Regions from separate parts of the Homo sapiens genome. Here all the other regions are linked to region 2. Evidence: promoter capture Hi-C in human tissues and cell types (Jung and others, 2019). All regions are on one chromosome and are shown on one strand. Each heading gives the region's core, a stretch centred on a gene start or on the middle of the fragment in contact. The rest is flanking DNA. Distances are from core to core; before and after follow the strand shown.

Region 1 (2,890 bases), core at 1-2,500, 1.7 Mb after region 2:
TGCCACCATTGGCTCCGGTATCGTCAACACGGCCTTCACTGTCGTGTCGGTGAGTCTTTGCTTACTGGCCCCCCCAGCCAAACCCCAGGGAGGAGGCAGTGCCATCTTCCCCACTGGTCTTTGCAGTGCCCTGTGACTTTCTCAGCTCTTGAGGCAAGGCCTCTGGGTGGGTGGGTTCAGAAGGGCACTAGGCAGGGGTGGCACTGACACTGTCTCTGCCCACAGCTGTTTGTGGTGGAGCGAGCAGGCCGGCGGACCCTGCACCTCATAGGCCTCGCTGGCATGGCGGGTTGTGCCATACTCATGACCATCGCGCTAGCACTGCTGGTGAGTTGCTAGGTTCTGGAGAGTGAGGGATGCGGGAGAGTTTGCCTGGGCTTCATATCCCAAAATGCCTGTCTCAGCCCCAGGCTGGCAGGCCTTTTGGTGGCTGCATTCTCCCTGGCTGTGGGTCTGACTTTCTGGCTCCTGAAGTTGTCTCCTTCCAAACCACACACATCCTCTCTTGAACTTGCTCCTCCCTGCTTGATGGATTCTCAGCGCAGCACCTCTGGTCCCAGACCCCAAACTCTCACCTCCTTAAGGAATTGCTTTGCCTAATATTAACCCTTTCCAATCTTCATCTGTAGCCTCAATTCATCTTCACAGCAACCCCGGGAAGTAGTGCTGTCCTCCCCATAGAGGCGCAGAAACATGCCTTGCCTCATTCAGTTCACACGACTGGAGGTGTAGTTCAGTTCTTCCCATTTTATGGGGGAGGAAGCTTAAGTCCCAGTGAGGTTAGTAACTTGTCAGATAAAGGATGAAGCCAGGAATCAACCTCAGTCCCAGGCCTGTGACTGTGACCGCTGTGCTAACCCTGTGCCTGGCACTCACACACAGGCACTCGTTTATTTAGCCTCTGGGCAAGGAAAGCACCATGACTGTCATTTTACAGCTCAACCTGGGCTTGGAAAGTTTGGTGGTTGCCGAAAGGCCAGACAGGCAGCAAGTGGAAAGCCCATAAATTTTCTACCCTGGCCTCCTCAAGAATGGTTATATGCAGAACCGTATGCTTAGCGCTTACTCTGTGCCAGCCTGAGCTGGGCACCTCACACGCCTTAGAACCTGAATCCACCCCACCCCCAGGAATGTTCTGCATCCTGCCACAGGCGGACTGTGCTGCAGGCACAGACAGGGGACCATGGGGCCTCTTAGCACCGTCCACATGCACACCACATTACCACTCCCAGCGGGTGGACTCAACACTTGCAGCCACCCTGCAGGACTTAAATCATTTTGTTCGGATGAGGAAACTTAGGCCCAATGCTGGATACACAACAAATCCAGGACCATCCCCAGGCTTCCTGCCTTCTCGCATAGCTCTGCTCTGGCCTCTGTAGCTTCTGTTTCCCCTGAGGATCCATCACAACCCAGTCTAACTTTTCCCCCTCTCCGTCATCCTCAACAGGAGCAGCTACCCTGGATGTCCTATCTGAGCATCGTGGCCATCTTTGGCTTTGTGGCCTTCTTTGAAGTGGGTCCTGGCCCCATCCCATGGTTCATCGTGGCTGAACTCTTCAGCCAGGGTCCACGTCCAGCTGCCATTGCCGTTGCAGGCTTCTCCAACTGGACCTCAAATTTCATTGTGGGCATGTGCTTCCAGTATGTGGAGGTGAGAACCCCCACTGTCTCTATACTCACCCGCACGCATGACCCCACAGTGCTGTGCAAAGTGCTGGCCCAGCATTCTCATTAGGAATCATGCTGAGGAGGAAACTGAGGGTAGGAAGCCCAGGTCACATGACCAAGAATGCTGACCTCAACTCCAGGGTTCTCCCCTTAGCCTTGAATGGTGCTCCTGGAGCCTGTTACATTCTAGGTACAAGCGTGGTCTCAGTTAATTATGATAGCATCCCTGGGTAGGTGGATGTTCCCTTTTCAGCTCAAAGGCCCAAAGGTAAAGTGACTTATCCAAAGTCCTACAGCCAGGATGTAGGGTCATGACTCCAACCAAGTGTGTCTGTGTGTCTTTCAGCAACTGTGTGGTCCCTACGTCTTCATCATCTTCACTGTGCTCCTGGTTCTGTTCTTCATCTTCACCTACTTCAAAGTTCCTGAGACTAAAGGCCGGACCTTCGATGAGATCGCTTCCGGCTTCCGGCAGGGGGGAGCCAGCCAAAGTGACAAGACACCCGAGGAGCTGTTCCATCCCCTGGGGGCTGATTCCCAAGTGTGAGTCGCCCCAGATCACCAGCCCGGCCTGCTCCCAGCAGCCCTAAGGATCTCTCAGGAGCACAGGCAGCTGGATGAGACTTCCAAACCTGACAGATGTCAGCCGAGCCGGGCCTGGGGCTCCTTTCTCCAGCCAGCAATGATGTCCAGAAGAATATTCAGGACTTAACGGCTCCAGGATTTTAACAAAAGCAAGACTGTTGCTCAAATCTATTCAGACAAGCAACAGGTTTTATAATTTTTTTATTACTGATTTTGTTATTTTTATATCAGCCTGAGTCTCCTGTGCCCACATCCCAGGCTTCACCCTGAATGGTTCCATGCCTGAGGGTGGAGACTAAGCCCTGTCGAGACACTTGCCTTCTTCACCCAGCTAATCTGTAGGGCTGGACCTATGTCCTAAGGACACACTAATCGAACTATGAACTACAAAGCTTCTATCCCAGGAGGTGGCTATGGCCACCCGTTCTGCTGGCCTGGATCTCCCCACTCTAGGGGTCAGGCTCCATTAGGATTTGCCCCTTCCCATCTCTTCCTACCCAACCACTCAAATTAATCTTTCTTTACCTGAGACCAGTTGGGAGCACTGGAGTGCAGGGAGGAGAGGGGAAGGGCCAGTCTGGGCTGCCGGGTTCTAGTCTCCTTTGCACTGAGGGCCACACTATTACCATGAGAA
Region 2 (3,004 bases), core at 316-2,815:
CCCCACTACTGAAACAACCTCCTAACTGGTCTCCCTCCTTCTCCCAATCCTCAATCCAGTTCCTGCACTAATGTTTCTTTTTTTTTGAGACAGAGTCGCGCTCTGTCACCCAGGCTGGAGTGCAGTGGAGCAATCTCGGCTCACTGCCACCTCTACCTCCCAGGTTCAAGCCATTCTCCTGCCTCAGCCTCCCAAGTAGCTGGGATTACAGGTGTGCACCACCATGCCCGGCTAATTTTTGTATTTTTAGTAGAGATGGGGTTTCGCCATGTTGGCCAGGCTGGTCTCGAACTCCTGACCTGAAGTGATACGCCCGCCTCAGCCTCCCAAAGTGCTGGGATTACAGGGGTGAGACACCACACTGGGCTCTTTGTTTTGTTTTTTGAGACAGGGTCTCACTCTGTCACCCAGGCTGGAGTGCAGTGGCACAATCATGGCTTACTGCAGCTTTGACCTCCTGACTCAAGTGATCCTCCCACCTCAGCTTTCCAAGTAGCTGGGACTTCAGGCATGCGCTACCATGCCTGGCTAATTTTTAAAATTTTAATTTTGTAGAGATGAAGGTCTCACTATGTTGCCCAGGCTGGTCTTGAACTCCTTCAAGCCATTCTCCCGTCTTGGCCTTCCAAAGTGCTGGGATTACGAGTTTGAGCCACCGCGCCTGGCATGCAAAGAGTCTTTCCCCCTCCCTATCTCTAAAAGTCTTTCAAGGCCCAGCTCAAGAGCCAACCCCACTGCCATAAATGCCCCTTCTCTGATTCTGAGCTCCTCAAATCCTTACTCTTCTGTAGTATTTATCTCACACGCAGAATCAGAGTTGCTTCATGCATGGTTTCTCTCCCTCTCCCGTTAAGACATGGGAGAGGGAGGGCCAAAAGCTTGATTCTCACTAGGGCCTAAGGAACCTTATTTAGCCCACCCAGTCTCTGGCACATAGTATGTAAATATGCTGGCACATAGTATGTAAATATAGATAAATGCAAGAAAGTTGCACTCCCAGCTCCTCGGTGGGCCCTATCAACAGGGCATTCTCTAAAGTCATCAACTGAAGACTGCTTCCCATCCACCCATCCATCCATCCATCCATCCATCCATCCAGAATATGCCTCAACCCCACTGGGTGGAGGTTGGGTCGGCACGCGCCCCCTAGGCCGTTTTGTACGGTTTTATACCTCCAGCCCTCGCAGTTGCGGCTGGTAGAGGATGGCAGAGGTAGGTAGACGATGCAAGTCAAAGGGCACACTCTTCCGCCGCGTAGGATAGGACTCTGTTCGGACGAGTGACCCTGCCCATTCCCAGAATACAGCAACTCTTCAGCCGCCTCTCACCTACATGAGAGGGTGGGGACTCTTCCTGACCGGCGCCCCGGCTGACCAATACCTGATCCAGATCAAGCGAATTAGCCAATGGCTGCGGGTCAGTAATAGGGGCGGGGCATGGTTGCTAGGGCCGAGCTAGTGGGGTGAGGCGAGAGGCTCTGGAAGAGACTCGGTGGTTGCTAAGGCGGGAGGTCACAGAGCGCGGCGCAGGGATTGGGCCGTGTTGGGGGAGGTGTGTGGTGATTGGGCGGCGCCCAGGAGGCGCCCGGGTGAGGCACGGGTGCGCAAGCGGGAGTTCCGGCTGGAGACCCGTGCTCTGGGCCGGCGCCTTCACCATGGCCTCGGCAGAGCTGGACTACACCATCGAGATCCCGGATCAGCCCTGCTGGAGCCAGAGTATGGAATGAGGGTTGGGTCCAGGCGCGGGGAGGTGACCTCATGAACCTGTGGGTTGCGAGCGCAGCTGTAGCCCCGCCCCTCATGCGGCCCCGCCCTCCCTCGGGCCGCCCCCTCATAGGGTCTGGCAGGTCCTAGACTTAGAGAGGCTCAGAGAGCCCCGCCCCTCGTAAGTCCCGCCCCAGAGTGTTCCTCCCTGGCGAGCCCCGCCTCTGCCCGAGTCAGCTGCTCGCTTGGGACCTCTTTTTCTGTCTTTCCTGTCCGGGGTGCTCAGGTCCATGCCCTTTAATCACTTCTCATAGCTGAAGGCTGCCGAAAGCTGGATCCCTCCTGATTCCTTTGTTTGGGATTGGGCTTCCCACATCTAGCCTATCACTTATTATTTTCCCGAAGGCGTGGAGGGGGAGGCTCGCGGGGTCACCGATCCTCGCAGAAGCCCGGGACTCAGAACCCTTAGCCGTCCCTCTCCACTCTTCTCGGCAGTGGTTAACAGTGCAGTCTCTGCCGTCGGGTAGAACTCGACTGAAATCCTGACTCCTTCCTTTAGGAGCTGGATTACCTTTGGTAAGCTACCTTCTCTGAACTTCAGTTTCCTCCTCTGCAAAACCGGGATAAGGATAGTAACCTTCCTCATAGGGCTGTTGGGGCCATCTGGAGATTGTGTAAAGGGCCTGGCATGGAGTGAGTTCAGTAATTGGCATTTACGATCAGCATTGTTTCTCTCCTTACATTAAAGAAAGACATGTAGGATTCTCCACAAAATTAGGATTGACAGCAGGCCCGCATCCATGACAGTGTGAGTAGATCGGGGTCCAGAGAGTGGAAAGTTTGGTCTCTCTGGGAATTCTGGCAGAAGGGCCTTGAAGTATGATCAGCCTGAGGCCAGCGTGTCCCTCACTTGCATTAGTCCAGCATCGCCTTCACGCCTCCTGTCTCACTGCCTGCAGCCCAGCCTCTTAAACTGCTACCACAGTGATCTTTCTAATGCAAAGGTTTGATCTTATACTCTGCTCTCCATAAAACTTACCTCCTTAAGGAGAGCCTTCCCAGATCCCTCCCGTAGCATCTCATGTTCTTTGGTTGGAGTCTAGGAGAGGGCAGCCCTTAGACTCCCGCAGAACAGATGGCCCCAGACCAGCTGTTTTTCCCTAGAACTGGATCTGCTGGCTTAGCGCTTTTGGGTTTATAGATGTAAAAATACTTTGGACACGTTTTGGCGTCAGCAAGCCATGAAGTCAGTTAATATTATTTCCTTTGGAGAGTCTTCGGCTGCAAAGGGTTGGAGCTGC
Region 3 (2,898 bases), core at 293-2,792, 1.5 Mb before region 2:
GGAGGTTGCAGCCAAGATCATGCCACTGCACTCCAGTTCTTGGGCTCAAGTGATCCTCCCGCCTCAGCCTCCCAAAATGTTGGGATTACAGACGTGAGCTACTGCTTGCCCCCTACCACCTCACTTTTCTTTGAAATCTTCCTGTAGTCAATCCCTGGGAGGCAGGCCACTATTCCTCATCTATAGATGAGAAAACCGAGGCTCAGAAATGGACAGCTCTGGACCACACCTCACAGTGCCTGGGGAGCAGCCCAGGGGAGATGGCAGGCAGGTGGAGAAGGAAGTGGTGGCACACTGGGACAGTTGGCACAGGTGCAGGAGGAGCAGGCCAGGCCAAGCCACCGAATCGGGAGGTGAGGGGGAGGAGGATGATGGCCTGAGGGTTCATGCCAGGAGGAGGGCTTCCCGCTCCAGCCAGCCTCAGGCAGCCACTGGAAAATCGGGTTTGGCAGCTTCAGCCATGTGCTGCAGGACTGGAAGAAGGTCCAGGCTGCTCCTGGGAGGCAGCCTAGCACGGGCTCTTCCTCTAGCCCTGAGTTTCACCACCTGGCTAGTTGGGGGAGTATTACTTTATAATTCTGGGACCCTTTGGACCGTGAAGAGAACAGCTCTGGGCTAGAGGCAGGAGCCCGGAGCTTCAGTCTTGGTTCTGCCCCAAGCCCTGATCTGATCCTTGGAGTGTCCTGGCCCCTCTCTTCGCCTCTGTGGCTCCGCTCTAGAGAAATAGGTTCCCCAGACCCCAACTCCTGCCCCCGAGATTTTCCTGGGAGTCTGACTCAGGCACAGGAACACAGAGTCAGTGGGTAAGGGCACGAACAGACAGCCCCTGGGGCGCCAGGCTGGAGGTCGCTTGTCACTAATAGGTCAATGGCCGGAAGCCCAGCTCCAACCCCACAATGCAATACCGGTCACCCCACCCTTACCAGTGCCCTCACCCACACCCCCACTTCCGGCCTCTGTTCCTTCCTCACCTCTGGGGAAGGCTGCAGGGCTCCCTAGGGAATGTCCCCTGGTTCCTCCACTGGCTCTCTGCCCAGTGCTTAACCCTTCTTCCCACACCTACCCATTCAGCCAGGGCAGTCTCCCACAAAACTTTCTCTCCCTGGACCATGGGGCAGTGCAAGGAGGACAGGAAGCTGGGTGGAAGGACTGCAAAGGAGACTGCTTTTCCTGCTACCCTCAGGTACTGAAGCCCAAGTAAGAGTTTTCAGTAGAGAGGGAGTAGACTGAGTGTTGGGCCCTAGGACTGGGCTTCCCTGGGTACTATCCCAACCCCTGAGCCTCGGGAGAGGTGGAAATGACCTTCCTCTGCACCGGCATGCCCAGAGAAGAGAGCCTGGAGCTGAGACTTGCAACTTCTAGAAAACAAACACAAAACTGAGGCCAAGAGAGTGCTGACTACTATTACCAACAAAATTCATTAAACACAATTTTAAAAAATCATGAAATTCTAGATTCATGGAGTTCACAGTTATGGAATCTTAGCATCACAGAATTCCAGCATGGTAAAATCTGGGTTATAGAAACTAAGAAATTCAGAATTGTGGCATTACTGAGTTCCAGATGACAAAATTAGAATATCCTTGAAATGGACATCTTGAGAAATCAATTAATAAAGCCCTTACATTCAGGTGGCTGTCTAAACTAGAGGATTTCCTGCTGGGGATAGGCAAAGGTGTCCACACATGAACACTGAGGGGAGGTAGGGAGCCTGGGACACATAAGCTTAAACCAGGCAGGGCCAGGCGCGGTGGCTCGCGCCTGTAATCCCAGCACTTTGGGAGGCTGAGGCTGGTGGATCACCTGAGGTCAGGAGTTTGAGACCAGCCTGGCCAATATGGTGAAGCCCCGTCTCTACTAAAAATACAAAAATTAGCCAGGCTTGGTGGCAGGTACCTGTAATCCCAGCTATTTGGGAGGCTGAGGCAAGAGAATCGCTTGAACCTGGGAGGCAGAGGTTGCAGTGAGCCGAGATCATGCCATTGCACTCCAGCCTGGGGGACGAGAGCTAGACTTTGTCTCAAAACAAACAAACAAACAAACAAACACCAAACCAGACAGAAGACAGACTTTGTCCATGAGAACACATTTCTGGTTCCTGAAGATGAGGGGCAGGGGGCAGCAGGTGGGGATAGAGAAAGCAGAATTATACAAACAAAGAAAACATAACCTAAAGAAAGAATCATCAAGTAGCATAATATGCTGACCCCAGCATCTCCAGCTTCCCCATAACTGCAGTTACCATCAGCCCAGGACATTTCCTTCCAAAGGTTAGTAAGACTTCTTATCATATTGGAATGGCTATCTTTTTTGGGAAGAAAGGTACCGAACAGAAAATACTCCATGCTTTTCTCGGGGTGGCTGGGAGGAATAGACTGTCTTCAAAGGTGCTAAGCCCTGAGCCACATGATGCACACCGAAGCCACTCCATGTGGTGGGGTTCAGAGCTCCCAGCAAGGCCCTGATAGAGGACCCTGTGGAGAGCACCTGGGTGGGGTTGTGCCTAGGGGGGCTGATCATCTCTATAGAAGGAGCCAATCTTGAGGCAAAATTTGTATGGGGACCCTTGTCCAATCTTTGGGGCTGGTTATTCAGCAAACAACAAAGGTATTTACCTAGCACTTCTGGGAAACTACTGCAAACTCAGGAACCCAGAAGGAGCAGTTCCAAAGACAGGCAAATGCCAGGCCCTGCTGGGCATGGGAAATGGGGCAATGTCAGCTGAAGGTCTTCTTGCTCAGCTGTCTGTCCTTGGATTCAGCTCAATACCTCAGCCCTGACCTCTACTCACACGCCCATTTGCCTCCCTCTCCTTGCTTGCCTGCTGTTCTACCTACTTATACCTGCTGTGTGAACTTTGGCAAGTTCTATCCCATCTCTGGGCCTCAAATCTCCTTT

The links. The method cuts DNA at HindIII sites, captures the fragments that hold promoters and counts their contacts. A contact is called where the count stands out against the background at its distance.
Region 1: a fragment that was not itself captured here is called in contact with the fragment with the promoter of TMEM53 in region 2 in 1 of the 25 tissues and cell types used here (small bowel).
Region 3: a contact is called between a fragment that was not itself captured here and the fragment with the promoter of TMEM53 in region 2, in 1 of the 25 tissues and cell types used here (psoas muscle).

What each region holds. Positions count from the first base shown.
Region 1 is chr1:42,926,369-42,929,258 of GRCh38, reverse strand. It overlaps SLC2A1 (solute carrier family 2 member 1), which reads left to right. Exons shown (of 10, transcript NM_006516.4): 7 at 1-49; 8 at 226-327; 9 at 1,451-1,654; 10 at 2,018-2,890. The coding sequence ends at 2,218. Among named protein-coding and RNA genes, the nearest start is that of SLC2A1, 31 kb to the left of the region's middle. RefSeq lists enhancers at 1-31, 32-674, 1,706-2,205. The HindIII fragment of the contact is 6,588 bases long and covers 1-2,890 here.
Region 2 is chr1:44,673,042-44,676,045 of GRCh38, reverse strand. TMEM53 (transmembrane protein 53) reads left to right here and starts at 1,565. Exons shown (of 3, transcript NM_024587.4): 1 at 1,565-1,715. The coding sequence starts at 1,655. It overlaps ARMH1 (armadillo like helical domain containing 1), which reads right to left and starts at 1,332. Exons shown (of 12, transcript NM_001145636.2): 1 at 1,173-1,332. RefSeq lists silencers at 1,393-1,442, 1,513-1,562, 1,713-1,852 and an enhancer at 1,620-2,121. The HindIII fragment of the contact is 6,219 bases long and covers 70-3,004 here.
Region 3 is chr1:46,169,562-46,172,459 of GRCh38, reverse strand. The region is part of intron 1 of P3R3URF-PIK3R3 (P3R3URF-PIK3R3 readthrough); the gene reads left to right. It also overlaps a transcript of PIK3R3 not described here. Among named protein-coding and RNA genes, the nearest start is that of TSPAN1, 4.1 kb to the left of the region's middle. The HindIII fragment of the contact is 4,459 bases long and covers 1-2,898 here.